Regions from separate parts of the Homo sapiens genome. Here all the other regions are linked to region 1. Evidence: promoter capture Hi-C in human tissues and cell types (Jung and others, 2019). All regions are on one chromosome and are shown on one strand. Each heading gives the region's core, a stretch centred on a gene start or on the middle of the fragment in contact. The rest is flanking DNA. Distances are from core to core; before and after follow the strand shown. Region 1 holds the start of C4orf46 (chromosome 4 open reading frame 46). Region 2 has its middle 50 kb from the start of TMEM144. Region 3 holds the start of LOC101928007 (a long non-coding RNA gene). Region 4 overlaps TMEM144 (transmembrane protein 144). Region 5 overlaps SPMIP2 (sperm microtubule inner protein 2).

Region 1 (2,700 bases), core at 74-2,573:
ACTCAGCTCCTGGTGGAAAATTCACTTTTCAGCCAAACGTTTTCTTCACCAATGATATAAAATAAAACAGTGTTCCTCAATAACACATTAGCACTTCATTCTACATATTTACTTGCAATCAGTTTGTTCTGCAAAAATAAAAGCTGGTTAAGCACTCTAGTCATCCTTAAAAAAAAATACTTGCGGAGCAATGAGATAATCTAGTTCATCCCCTAGTTTCCAATCTGCAGGAAAGGTCAGGCCACAGAACTCTCCCAGGTTACACTCTACATACCTCATTCCACTTGACCCACTCAAGAGAACATAAAACTCCCCTTCCCTGTCTTCTCCCCTCCAGTGGTGTGTGAGTTACGGTTGGGAGGTGGGGTGCTAGTTTCTGGGGATTCGAGATTTAACAGAAACTATCCTAAGTATGCATTCTAGCAATCATACAAAGGGAGGAGTCCTGAACTAAACCGTCAAAGAAGCCAATCCACGTGACCTAAACCCTTCAAGCTGGGTCCAGCGCTAAGCAGGCCTGGGGCAGACAATGGCATTATCAGCTGTCCCTGGGCAGGTGGCCAACTAGAACAGCAGGCTCTAAGTCCCATGGAAAGAAATCACAGCCTGATCTCAAGTACCCACAGAAAGCCAGCAAACTCATGCAGTGAAAACTATTCTCCGAAACCCATGCAATGAAAACTATTCTCCGATGGGAAAGGAGGAGGCAGAGAGCCAGCAACAGGCAGCGCAGAGCTGCGTGGCTTCGGGTTACTGCGGATGATTGAAACCAGAAGGCGAGACAAAAAGAAACCAGTGAGGGGTGGGGCGGGTGGAAGGAAAACCCCTTAAGACTCCTCACCACTAAATCTAAAGGGGGAACCCTCAGAGAGGGGTGGCACTTTAGCTGCTGGCATCCCCCCCGCTTCCCGCCCGCACGCTCTGGGGCGCAGAAGGGCCGGTCGTCCCGGGTCATGGGGGTTGGGGGACCGATTCCCTAGCCTCGCGAGCCCCGCCGCCGCCGGTCTTCCCAGAGGCGCCGAGGGGGGACGCGGTCCCGACACCACACTCACGTCTCCGATCTGCAGCTCCACTTCCTCCAGCTGGTCCACCGTTGGGCCGCTGCTCCTGCTCGGAACTGGCCAGCCCAAACTCACTGGGCCGCCCGGGGAAGATGCTGCAGAGGCGTCTGAAGAGGAGGGAGAAGAGGGAGGCGGCGGGGGCGGCGAAGAAACCTGCAACTCCTCAGGGTCGGCCATGGGGAAGGGTTGGGACCGCGGAATCCGACCCGAGAAGCCGAACCGACACCAACTGTCTTTTAACCACTCGCGCCCAAAGCCGAAAGGCCCCGCCTCCTAACGCCAGAAATCCCGCCCAGTCTCCTCGTGGGTCTCAGCCCCGGACCACAAAGACGTTTCATTTTTCGGGACAGCCAATCATATGAGTCAATTCACCTTAGGCAACTCACGGCTCCTGCGCGAGCCTCCAATCGATCTCGAAGGGCACTCGTAGAGAAAACTACACCTCCCAGGAAGCCGTGTGCGTCGCCCCGCCTTCTACTGCCTTTCACTGCGCGTGCGTCGTGCTGTGGGATTCGCGGACCCCTCTGGCCGCGCTGTGGCTGTTTCACCGCTCCCCGGCTGGGACTTGGAGTCCCTTATCTTTCCCTGGTTTGGTACATGACCCGGAAGCCTCGGCTGGCCGTTGCGTCATCCATGGCGCCGGCGCAGAGCGAGAAGGAGGTGGGAACGCCGTGAAGCAAGAGCGGTCGGCAGAGCGGGGAGGCGAACTGCAGCAGAGTTCTTGCTTTCCGGCAGGTGATGGCGCCCCCCGCGGCCTAGAGGTCCAGCGCCCGCCGCGAGCAGCGGACAGTCCTCCTGTTGTGTCCGACCGAGAGTCCTGGTGACTTTGAACATGCTGGTGCCGCTAGCCAAGCTGTCCTGCCTGGGTGAGAGGAAACGGGCGGTGGGGATAAGTGGAGGAGTTAGGGCAAAAGGGACAAGGCCGGTCCTGGGGGCTGTAGGCACCTCTCGCCCCTTCTCTCATCAGCTTTCTCAGGCTATCTAGGGCAAAGGTCACGCGCTGTCAGCCTGTTGGGGGACCCTGGCTTCCTCCCTCTGGGGTTGCCCCAGTTGGTAGAATTAATATCTAGGCTAAAGGTCAAGGGCGGGGAAAACTTGTCAACACGCCCTCGGCATCACCACCACCTGTCAACACACACACACCTCGGTGGACTCCTGAACTGAGGCTTCCCAAATCCTGGTTCTAATCTTCAAACCTCTGTTGGAAATGGAAAAAAAAAAATCGTATTTGCCCAGTTTTTCTCCCTGGTCCTGACCTGACTTTCGTCTTCGGAGCCATTCTAGTTCAGTCTAAAGAAATTGAAGTCTGATCTGTCACATCATGGTTAACATTCATATGTTGACCAAGTCACCCAAGTGTATCTGGAGCCAGTTTTTCTGCGTTGTCTAAAATTAAGGGCTGGGCGTGGTGGCTCAAGCCTGTAATCCCAGCACTCTGGGAGGCTGAGGCGGATGGATCACCTGAGGTCAGGAGTTCAAGACCAGCCTGGCCAACATTGTGAAACCCCATCTCTACTAAAAATACAAAAATTAGCTGGGCGTTGTGGCCCACTCCTGTAATCCCAGCTACTCAGGAGGCTTAGGTAGGAGAATCACTTGAACCCGGAGGTGGAGGTTGCAGTGAGCTGAGATCGCACCA
Region 2 (2,700 bases), core at 88-2,587, 410 kb before region 1:
TGAATATTTACTGAATGAATGCAAGTAAGCTAAATCCTAAAGGCCTCATTTGGTGCTAAAATTATCTTGTGTCTCCTATTTAGGTTTCACACTGAAAGAAGCAGTTTGAGAAACTGCTTAATTAAAAGACATTCAAATTCAAGACAATTTACACTTTCACTCTGTAATCATTTTCATAATAGCTCACATCCAATTAATACAGTGGATAAAACTTAAAAAGTTTAATGGGAAACCCTTTTAAATACTCTTTAGTTGTCAGAAAGAACAAAGGTAAAACTTGTAATTCCTGTCACATCTTCCTCGGTTCAAAGAGTATTTTACAGTTAGAATAAAAAAAGGAGCCAAATAAAATTACTTAGGTTTTTCTTTTTTTCTTGTTTTTTTTCTTTGAGGCTCAAGGAGTACATTCACAAAAATAAATTATATTGGCTCCCATATGAAATTATCAGGGATGACATTAAAACTAAGCAGCCAAGGAAAACATGTTGGTGCAGGCTTTAGTTTTTCTCTAAATAGAAAAATTAATATTCTAAGTAATTTTGAAATTTAAAATATTAAATTTATTAAAGCTGTAATGAATTATACATTGCTCCCTTAAGGAAAAAAAAAAATATCAGTACCTGTAAGATGTATCTGACATTCACAAACAGTAACCACCCAAAAACACCAGGTTTGGTTGCTGGATTAAGATTCTAAAATCTGATATTCTGATTTTAGAATCTTAATCTTAATAATGTATGTCTCTGTGTTCCTAAAATTTTTATTTTAAAGTGCATGACACAATACATCATGAAATAATTCATAGACTACTTTCTTAAAATTTAAGTAGTTTAAGAAATCCAGGAAAATATTCTTTCCTATTATTTTTGCATAAATTATAGCATAAATGAATATCCACATCCTACGTATATAATTAGTACCATGAAATACAACTTGCTATGTATAGTCCCTGCCACATGTTAGGAAAGTTTATGCGAATTGGGACCTCTCCACAGAAGAGTCATTCAACTTTAATAACTAGGGGAAATGTTGGAGTTAGGTAGTTGGTTAAAATGGAATCTTCACACAAAATGAGGTATCTGGTTGTCTTACCTTTAGTTATTACTGTATATTAATCTTCATTTAATTCATCTGTAAATACATTTTCAAATTTGACCACCAGAGGGAAGTATAGGGTTAATTATGATAGTCTGTGGTGGTCTATGTTATAAAATGTAAACTTTTTTTAAGTTTGGGCTCTGTCTCTCCCTCTCCTTCCCTCCTTCCCTTCTTCTCTCTCTCCTGTATCTCTGCTCTCAAATGACCATATTTTGCCATTTATAGATTCTTAAAAGCTGAACTATAAAAAAAGAAACCTATCTTCTATTTCCCATGCTATCAGTCTAATTGTCAATGTGATGTCTGCTTTTCAGTCATCGAGTTTTCATCACTCTTTTGCTTTATTATTATATTTGGCTTTTATAATTTCCTAGAAGTTGAAGACATCACAAAACAATTCAATTTTTAGACTTATTTAAACAGAAGAGTCTGTTCTTGCCCTAGAATATTCAGGACGTAGAAGAAGGCTCACAGCCAGTGCTACCAACATTAATGAGTGCTGCTGAATAAATATTAAGCTAGAAGGCACATTTTTCTCTGACCTAAAAACAAAGACATCATCACTAAATGATTAGGCTGAATGGCCTCAGGTTTCTCTAAGATGCTCTAGTAATTCTTTGGCTTCGTTAGACTTTTTAGGTCACAGAGACCTGGAACTATTTGCCCTGTTATTTTTGAAGACTTTTTGCAAGCACGAGGCAGAAATGTTTTCTCAATAGCCTACTATGTCAATCATTTGTTGTAATTGGATGTTCACTGAATATGGATTCTTACAGCATTTGCCATCACTTGTAGACTGAATTGAGGAAGATGCGTTCCTATTTCCTGAGCACAGAATGATGTTTCACTACGGTAAAAGTTTGACATAAAGTGGGATAGCACATGAGCCTGTTGTTTATTTCAGCTCTGAAATGCCTAATGGAAAATCACTATGAGACAAATTCCACAAAAATAGGAAAATTGGACATGTCTAACATGCTCAAATCATAAGCTGAGATATTTTGCAGAATTTTTATTTCTCTCTATTTACACACTAAAGGTCATTTAGAATCCTGTCACCTCACTTACATCATCTTACTCATGATGCTTCTTATTGAGGATCTCAAGTCTGAAATTCAAATATTATGTATGTGCTGTATTGGTAATAAAATCATCAACTTTAATATGGGAATGTGACATACTAAATATGAGGTCAGGAAATATATAAAACTAAATCTCACAATATATTTTAATATATTTTGTGTATTTTATGAGGAGTAGAGAGATGGGAAAGCAACTTGGTATTGGACACTTTCATATGAGGGATTTTTTTTGCAAACACCAAAGACTCTACATGCTGTACTATTTTATGTAAATATGTACCTTTTCTATGGCTATTGCAAAAATTCTAAATACCTAATCATTGCTTATCTTCGATGCTTTGTAAGACTGATTTACCTCCTGAAAAGATGATTCAAGATCATAAATAAAAGGAAGAAAATGTCATTTTCCTTAACCTTTATGTGATTTTCCTGGGTTCTGCAGCCCCCGCTGTTTGACTTACTATTCATTCAGGCAAACTTTTCAGAAAAGGCTATGGGAAATCCAGCAGGGCCTAAATGG
Region 3 (2,700 bases), core at 73-2,572, 490 kb before region 1:
TATATTGTCAGGCTGGAAACTCTCAAAGGCCATCTTACCTAAAACCTAGACCCAGAATAAATAAGGAAAAAATGCATATAATCCATTGTTTACAAATTTCCTAAAAATGAAAGATTCTGAAATTTAAAACTTCCATAAATGACATCAAGGTATCTGCGGTTAATATTAGAAATCACAAGCATACAAAGAAAAAAAAAACACAAAGAGAGAGAGAATTTTTGGAATTATTTGAATCCAAACATAAATATAGATAGATAAATATAAACTGTTTAAAGGAAGACAAAGGGAACATGCAACAAAAGGTTTTAAAAATGATTGGGTACACATTAAAAAGAAATCTTAAAATAACATTTAGAAATGATAAAACTGTTCAAATTAAAATTCACTGGATAAAATGTTGGGCCCTGGAGTCAACAGTGTAGCTTACATTTAACTAAACCTCCTACCAAAAATAAGTTTAAAAATTGGAAAAATATATATATATAAACAATCTTCTGAAGGCATTGGAGAGCCAGTGCAAGTAATATTGAGCAGCTAAAATCCTTGAGAAAGGGAAGCACACAAGATGTATTCAACATTCACCTCGGAATTTTCCTGGGGGCATTTTCCAAGTTGTGGTGAAGGCGAAAAGAGCCCAAGAAGAAAGCAGGAGTTTCACACGTCAGAGGAGACAAAGTCTGGCGTTTCAGGACGCCAAAGGAGCTGTGATTTGAGGAGCAAACTATTGAAAAAGACAGGAAGCTAAGAGAGTGTCCCCAAATCTGCATCCTAATTTCCCTCAAATTGTGGGTAAATTTCTGACTTGTGCATGTACAAGGCAAGCCTTCAAGATATGTAGTGGGAAACAGCAAACAGAAAGCTTGAATGCTGAGCAGAGATTTCAGCAGCTGAATGGCACTGAGGAGTTAGAGATTAGAATTAAATCCAGAGGGAGCGTGCTAAACCTAGGTCCAGGACTTGGGCAAAGCTACTTTCTAAGATTAATGGTCACATCCTGTAAGTAGCAAATTAAAAAGGTCAAGTATAACAAAGCTTAAAACTAAGTCTCAACTGGATCAAAGTCATTCACTGAAGTGCTTTATAACTAAAAAATAAAAACAGCACTTTCGTGGGAACATCATATAGAGAATGTACAGTATGCTATCTATATTCTGAAAACCGACTGAAAATTATAAAACATGTCAAAAATAACAACAGCAAATGACCAACACAGAGGGAAAAGGGGGGAAATTTAGAAATAAATTAAAAAAAAAAAAAAAAAACCCAGGCTCCATCCTTCAGGAACTCGAGAAGACCTGAACGCAGCTGCTGTCACTGCAGTCTGAGCCTAAGCCTGACGCATCAACTCTGCGTCACTTCCTGTGCCTGCACGCACGCTCCGACTGCGTGCCCGATTTCCGGGCTCTGTGCTACTGGAGCGCCTGGCTCTTGCAGCTCACGAGCCTGGGAAGTCGCCTCTATCCAAAGGCCTTTTTTCTGTGCTGTCTGCGCAAGCTGCCTTCTCCCTGCCTGCCCACGGGAGCATGACCAAGGTGGTAGGCTGCCAGTGGCCATCTCCATAAAGGCAACTGAAAGTTTCATACTGGAAGCTCTTTGGCTGGCACTCCCACAGTTCTATGAAATAAACTTACTTAAAGCTCTATGAAGTATGAAAACTTTGCCCTGCTCTTTGACTTGCACAAATTTTGTTTGTATGGTACATTAGAAGAGAGAAAAGGACGGCTTGCGATGGCATTATTAACTAATGGAGCACTGCAATTTTTACCAGGAGATGAGCTATGCTTAGAAGACTCAGACTTTTTAGAAAATCATTTCTCCACTTAAAAAAAAAATTGAAGGAAGGCAAGAAATTTCACAACATAGTGATAAACAGTCACCATCTTTATAGTATCCATATAACTATTCAAAAATAAAACATTTTTCCTAAGACCTATATGGTAAGTCAGTAGATAAGAGGCTTTTGTAAAATGCTACTTATTGGTAAGCTGACTTATATGAAGTAGTCCTAATGAATAATGAGGGTTGACTAGTCTTGTTTGAAACCGTGCCTGTGAAAGTTATAGCAGTCTTATTTAAAGTGTATTATGGTGCTCTCTTGCTTAATTGAATCTTTAACATTGTAGTATGCCACAACTGTAAAGTATTAATGATATTATTACCAAAACAAGAAAAAATTATTTTATTATGTCAAGAGTTTAAATAAGATGTTCTGCTGCCATTGTTCTAACTGTCCAGTGTATTAACACTCCTTGATGTGCTTAGAAGGTGGATCCATGAATTCCTTAGACTTTCTGCCAGAATTAAAAAGTGTCTAATTAAATGGTGAACAGTAAGTAGACTGAGGCAAATTTCCAGTGATGTTGTCATTTTTTTTTTTTTTGCTATGCCTTTAGCTTGAGGATTACAACACAATTCTATTTAAAACCAAATGGCATTAGTTCTTATCTATTCCCCAGATTGAAAATCTATTTTAAGTCAATATTTTAAAGAAATATGAAGCCATAACAAAAGCTACCATTATTTTTGCTCTGAAGTGCTAGTTAATGAATGCAAAGAAGATAGATTTAGAACTATTCATCATTTAATGTTTAATGAAATTTATTTTCAGTATATTTTATATGGGTTTTTTTACCTCCTCTAAAGAGGAATAATGTTTATTGATTAAAAGTGAAAAATAATGGTTTAGACACCAATTCTTTT
Region 4 (2,700 bases), core at 81-2,580, 430 kb before region 1:
TAATCACTGCTGTAAGTAGCTGAACTGGTTTTCCTAATTTTCATTTTATAAATGTAAACCCAATTTTTCTGAAGCACTCTTAGGGCATCGCTAAAGACTGTCATGGAGTTTGATTTTTTAGGAATACAATTAATGGATTCAGATAGATAAACTGACCCTCTTGAATCTTCATGTGCTTGATTGCTAAGGAACATTTCTCACCTCATTTTAGCAGGGCTGTTACTCCTTAATCTTTAATATCCTTGCAGTTTTTGGTTTGATTGGTTTATCTAATGTAATTTTAGCGACATTGTAATTTGCTATTGATAACTATTATTCTCTCCTTATATAAAAGTTTATAAATATGGGACCTCTTAAAGGGAACATTGAAAAACAAACAAACAATATCCTTCACAAAACTTTTATAGTAGACAGAGAGTTGGTTTTTCTACCATTGTTTCTTGTTTTGAGTTAGAATAAAGACTGAGGACAAAATGAAAGCCTAATTCAAAGGAAATAAACCACTGAAGTAGGTGAGTGTGGGCAGAGGATCAGTGAAAGTGGTCACTGTGGCTTTTGGCAACCTGCCCATCACAGAGATTATTCTTGAAAAACTGTAATGGAAGCAAAGCCTTCTCACTCACCAGGCATAACTTTCTTACCTTGTGCGCTTGGTGCTTGTTATCTGGGAAGGACAGGTATTTGGAATTGGTGAGGGAGTAGGTCCCTATTGCTACCAGGCCCTTGCTTGGTTTTATTTTAGTCACTTTATCCAAGGACAACCTTATCTACACACAGAAGAGTTAGTCCCTACCCTCAACAATCTTACATTCTTCATTATTTTATTTTTTTGGTAGGGCTAGATTTTTAAAACTTTTTTAAACTTAAAATGTCAAACGAACCTATCACCTAGTTTCAACAATTATGAATATGGTCAATCAATTTTATCAGAATACATTTTAAATATCCCAGCAGTGCTGTTCTTCTCAGGTATACATATTCCCATAGTTATATATCCAGTGGTAACTAGACTGAGTTCCTTGAAAGTAGTATCCACTTTGTTTATTAGCAAATAACATTCCATTAAAAAGCTAAAAAAAAAGAAAGAAAGAAAGAAAAAAGTCACCTAGCAGGGGCTGTTACCTCTGCTCCATGTCTTCCTTGATAATTCTAAACTGAATCAGCTTAATCTTAAGATAGGAGCGAGTTCACTTTGTTTTCAAAGGCTGATTTACACCTAACTTACATTAGTTTACAAAAGGAAAATATACAATCCAAATTACCAAAACTGTTGTATCTCCTATGAAGATGTCCTTCCTATTTGGCTCTCCTTGGCCTGAATCAAAGAGTCAGTACATACTTTGACCTATGCTTGCATTACTTTTACCAAAGCACCCTTCCTGTAACCACACTACTCACGATAACTCTTAGGCCATGCTTAAACTCATATTTAGAAAACAATCAGACAAGAATCTTCAAAGGTCAATGATACCTTGTGGTATTGTCCTGTACCATGTTCTCTGAAGGGAAATGGATTTTCAGATTAAAAATTCTTGAGTGATTAGCATAACATTAATATGGTATCCTCTGTTCTATTGTTTCCTCTCATTCTGTTGAAAGTCAGTGTGGGTTGCCTAAAAGACCCATATGCTTCTTGTTTGATTTGGATTTTGAGGCTTAGGAACTTACATCATTGATAAAAGGCAGTTCCTTTGACCTATTTCTCTGGCTCTTTTGATGTTGACTTTCCAGATACTGATAAACAGAGAGGAGTGTATTTTTTTTGTTTCACTTACATACCAAGAGTGGAATCAAACTTCATTGACTCAGTCCTTTTGTCAGTTGGAGTAGTGGTAGGGGAAAAACATTTTGGAATCTATTTGAAACTCTTCCAGAGTTTCTCGGAGTTTGAAGAGCAATCATAAAAATGCTGATACAATACACCTTCTCCACAAAGACCACACCTAGCCCGCATTCCAATTTTCTTCCTTCTCAGCTAAGAAGAATTACCACCAAACTTGAATAGCTTAAAGTTTATAAATTGCAGAACCATTCCTTTTTTTCACCTGTTTCTTCTCATTTCCTCTGTCCTGTATTATTTCATTCTTTTCTTTGTCTCCTGCCCAGAAACCCCTATTGTTTTTCCTTACACGTTTATTTTAATCTTCCCATAAACCTTTTTTTAGCATTCATTGGTGTTTAATGTTAGCCAGACTTGATTGCTCTGTAGTAATATCAGTTAAAAAAATTTTTAAAGCACGAGCTACTTCCACAAGTACATTATTTGTTAGGCCAAAAAGAATATGCCAAAATTTCTTCAGTTACAAGATTATCTCATGCCAAAGAAAGTTAGAAGCTTGTGCACACTTTTTCTTATTAATCCCATTTCTAGTATCCTAAGGAACTAGGCCAATGGAAAAAATAAGCTATGTGCTTATAAAAATAATTTATGTCAGATATATTAAAGTATTATGTGGCACAAAATATTATAGCATCATCAAAATAATCAAAATGAAGACCATGAAGAAAAGAAAATGAAAAAAAGTCTTCATTTTTTTTACTTAATATCACCTAAAGTTTAGCTTAGTGTGGAGTTAGGGTTGATATTATGGGTAGTTTTCCCTGAAAATATGTTTATACTGTCTCTAACTTACTATATTTATATAGAATCTAGTCATAGGTAAATATCCAATTTAATTAAAATTTATATTTTTATTTAAG
Region 5 (2,700 bases), core at 100-2,599, 360 kb after region 1:
AGCACTTTGGGAGGCTGAGGCGGGCAGATCACCGGAGGTCAGGAGTTTGAGACCAGCCTGGCCAACATGGTGAAACCCCATCTCTACTAAAAATACAAAAAATTAGTGGGCATGGTGGCTCACGTCTGTAATTCCAGCTACTTAGGAGGCTGAGGCACGAGAATCACTTGAACCCTGGAGGGAGAGACTGCAGTGAGCTGAGATCATACCACTGCACTCCAGCCTGAGCAACAGAGGGAGACTGTCTCAAAAAAAAAAATTGTTGGGCTTTAAATACGTATACATTGTTCATAGTATATACAATTCTCTAAAGCTTGTGGCATTAATAAGTTATATATCTGTTTGTATCTTTCACCTGCTAATTCTGCTCTCTCTATATATACCACATGAAAATAAGAGAACAAGAAAAATAATTTATGCAAAGTATTCATACAAATTTGTAACAGTAAAAATTAGGAAATTATAAAATACAGGAGGCTGTGAAGCTAAGTATTATATGTCAGTATAATGAAAGGCAGAAATCTATCAAAGGTGACAACAATTTGAACTATGTAAATACATAAAACTAAGTATATACACTGGTGTAAGTTAGAAGAAATTTTAAGTGTTAATTAAGACTCTTGCACAGTTCCAAATGACAGAAAACCCAACCCAAACTGGCTAAGGAAAAGAGGAGATTTATTGGCTGATGAAAATTAAAACTTTAAAAGGCACAAAAATCTCTTCAAAATAGATTATAGACCTAAATGAAAACGTAACATTGTAAAATGTCTAAAAGAAAACACAGGATAAAAATCTAAATGACCTTTCTTTTTTTTTTTTTTTGGTAAAAAAGTCAAAAACAGACAATACCAAAGGCTGACAAGGACACAAAGCAACAAGGACTCTCATTCATTGCTGATGGACATGCAAAATAGTATAGCTAGTTTAGAAGACAGTTTGGCTTAACACAGGATCCAGCAATTACTCTCCTAGGTATTTACCAAATTGATTTGAAAACATATCCATGCAAAAGGCTGCACATAAATGTACATAGAAGCATTTCTCACAATTGCCAAAAACTGGAAGCCACCAAGATGTCTTTCGATAGGGGAAGGGATGAACAAATTGTGACACATCCACACAGTGAAATATTATTCAGTGGTAAAAAGAAATAAGCTATCAAACCATGAAAAGATGTGGAGAAGCCTTAAAATGATATTGATGAGGAAATGAAGCCAATCTGAAAAGACTACATACTGTATAACTCCAGCTCTGTGACATTCAAGAAAAGGCAAAACTGTGGAGACAGTGAAAAGATCAGTGGTTGCCAGGAGCTAGGGGGAAAGGGGGAGGGGGGAATGAATAGGTGAAGCACAAGAGATTTTTTAAGTGGTGAAACCATAACGTATGGTACTATAATGGTGAATACATGGTCCTATTAATTTGTCAAGACCCCCATATATTTAATAGCATAAAAAGCAAACCTTAATGGATGCAAATTAAAAAAAATTATTTACGAGATTGTAGGATTTCAGGAAGGAATTCAGACTGTGACAAGAAAATCTAACTGTATTACAAGTGCATAAAACAACCTTACTGAAGAGGCTAGAAAGAAAATGTGCAGACTTAAGTAACTTTGGAAATGAATAGAGTTTATAAGAATAAAGGCAAAAGGAATTGCAGATAAGCAGTGTACTCTTGTTGACAAAGTCCTTCTCACAGGAGTAAAAAAGAGGTAAGAGTGAGGAAAGAGATGTTTTTCCCAAAGCCAAGTGAGTCACAAGAAGGGGAGTGGATGAGATGGATGATGAGCAACACAAATCATAAATGCCCACCATAAATATGCATTTGATTATTTTTCTGTAACATTGTAAAATATGCTCACACTTTGGAAAAAAAGAAAAAAAGGCCAGGTTCACGCCTGGAATCCCGACACAGGTGGGTGGATCACTTGAGGTCAGGAGTTCGAGACCAGCCTAGCCAACATGGTGAAACCCCATTTCTACTAAAAGTACAAAATAAATAAATAAATAAACAACCACATGTGGTGGCATGTGCCTATAGTCCTAGCTACTCGGGAGACTGAGGCAGGAGAAACACTTGAACCTGGGAGGTGGAGGGTGCAGAGAGCCCAGATCGTGCCATTGCACCCTAGTCTGGGCAACAGGGCGAGACTCTGTCTCAAAAAATAAATAATTTGGAAAAAAAGGAAATAAAATGAAGTTTAGTTTATGCCTTATAGACTTACCACAACTAGTCATCTTCTATTTTTTAGATATTATTATAATTTCACACACACTGCCCAAATCATTTAAAGTAAGCTGAATGAACAAAACTCAAACCAATCACTTTACTAGGTTTAATGCATATCCTGCTCAAATTTTTATCAAGCAAATATGTCAAGTTTATAATGTTATGAGAAGCTTAAATCAGTGTTAATAAAAATTCGATGAAAAGTATGTTTTTTATTACATCAAAGAAGTTTCTCTTGCACAAACCATAAAAGCTATGCTAATTCAAATATTCCTTTGTGAAAGTTACCTCAGATATAGTGACAACTGCTGTGTTAAAGACATGTTTATGGCAACAAGATGATGATGATCAGACTGAGTGGGCATAATGAGATAGCAGTATCATGTAAATTAAATGTAGGTGGGTTGGGCATGGTGGCTGATGCCTGTAATCCCAGCACTTTGGGAGGCCTATGCAGGCAGATCA

The links. Contacts are between HindIII fragments. The study calls those that stand out against the background at their distance.
Region 2: a fragment that was not itself captured here is called in contact with the fragment with the promoter of C4orf46 in region 1 in 1 of the 25 tissues and cell types used here (stomach).
Region 3: a fragment that was not itself captured here is called in contact with the fragment with the promoter of C4orf46 in region 1 in 1 of the 25 tissues and cell types used here (dorsolateral prefrontal cortex).
Region 4: a contact is called between a fragment that was not itself captured here and the fragment with the promoter of C4orf46 in region 1, in 1 of the 25 tissues and cell types used here (mesendoderm cells).
Region 5: a fragment that was not itself captured here is called in contact with the fragment with the promoter of C4orf46 in region 1 in 1 of the 25 tissues and cell types used here (mesendoderm cells).

Annotation. Positions count from the first base shown.
Region 1 is chr4:158,670,564-158,673,263 of GRCh38, forward strand. C4orf46 (chromosome 4 open reading frame 46) reads right to left here and starts at 1,324. Exons shown (of 2, transcript NM_001008393.4): 1 at 1,053-1,324. The coding sequence starts at 1,238. ETFDH (electron transfer flavoprotein dehydrogenase) reads left to right here and starts at 1,733. Exons shown (of 13, transcript NM_004453.4): 1 at 1,733-1,927. The coding sequence starts at 1,894. RefSeq lists enhancers at 303-939, 940-1,576, 1,419-1,978, 1,580-2,081 and a silencer at 929-998. The HindIII fragment of the contact is 11,975 bases long and covers 1-2,700 here.
Region 2 is chr4:158,259,001-158,261,700 of GRCh38, forward strand. No RefSeq gene overlaps it. Among named protein-coding and RNA genes, the nearest start is that of TMEM144, 50 kb to the left of the region's middle. The HindIII fragment of the contact is 6,186 bases long and covers 1-2,700 here.
Region 3 is chr4:158,181,484-158,184,183 of GRCh38, forward strand. The region is part of intron 2 of GASK1B-AS1 (GASK1B antisense RNA 1); the gene reads left to right. It overlaps LOC101928007 (a long non-coding RNA gene), which reads right to left and starts at 742. Exons shown (of 4, transcript XR_007058350.1): 1 at 583-742. It also overlaps the pseudogene NUDT19P5. The HindIII fragment of the contact is 4,910 bases long and covers 1-2,700 here.
Region 4 is chr4:158,241,596-158,244,295 of GRCh38, forward strand. It overlaps TMEM144 (transmembrane protein 144), which reads left to right. Exons shown (of 13, transcript NM_018342.5): 11 at 1-11. Among named protein-coding and RNA genes, the nearest start is that of TMEM144, 32 kb to the left of the region's middle. The HindIII fragment of the contact is 5,294 bases long and covers 1-2,700 here.
Region 5 is chr4:159,031,972-159,034,671 of GRCh38, forward strand. The region is part of intron 1 of SPMIP2 (sperm microtubule inner protein 2); the gene reads right to left. Among named protein-coding and RNA genes, the nearest start is that of SPMIP2, 1.9 kb to the right of the region's middle. The HindIII fragment of the contact is 4,562 bases long and covers 1-2,700 here.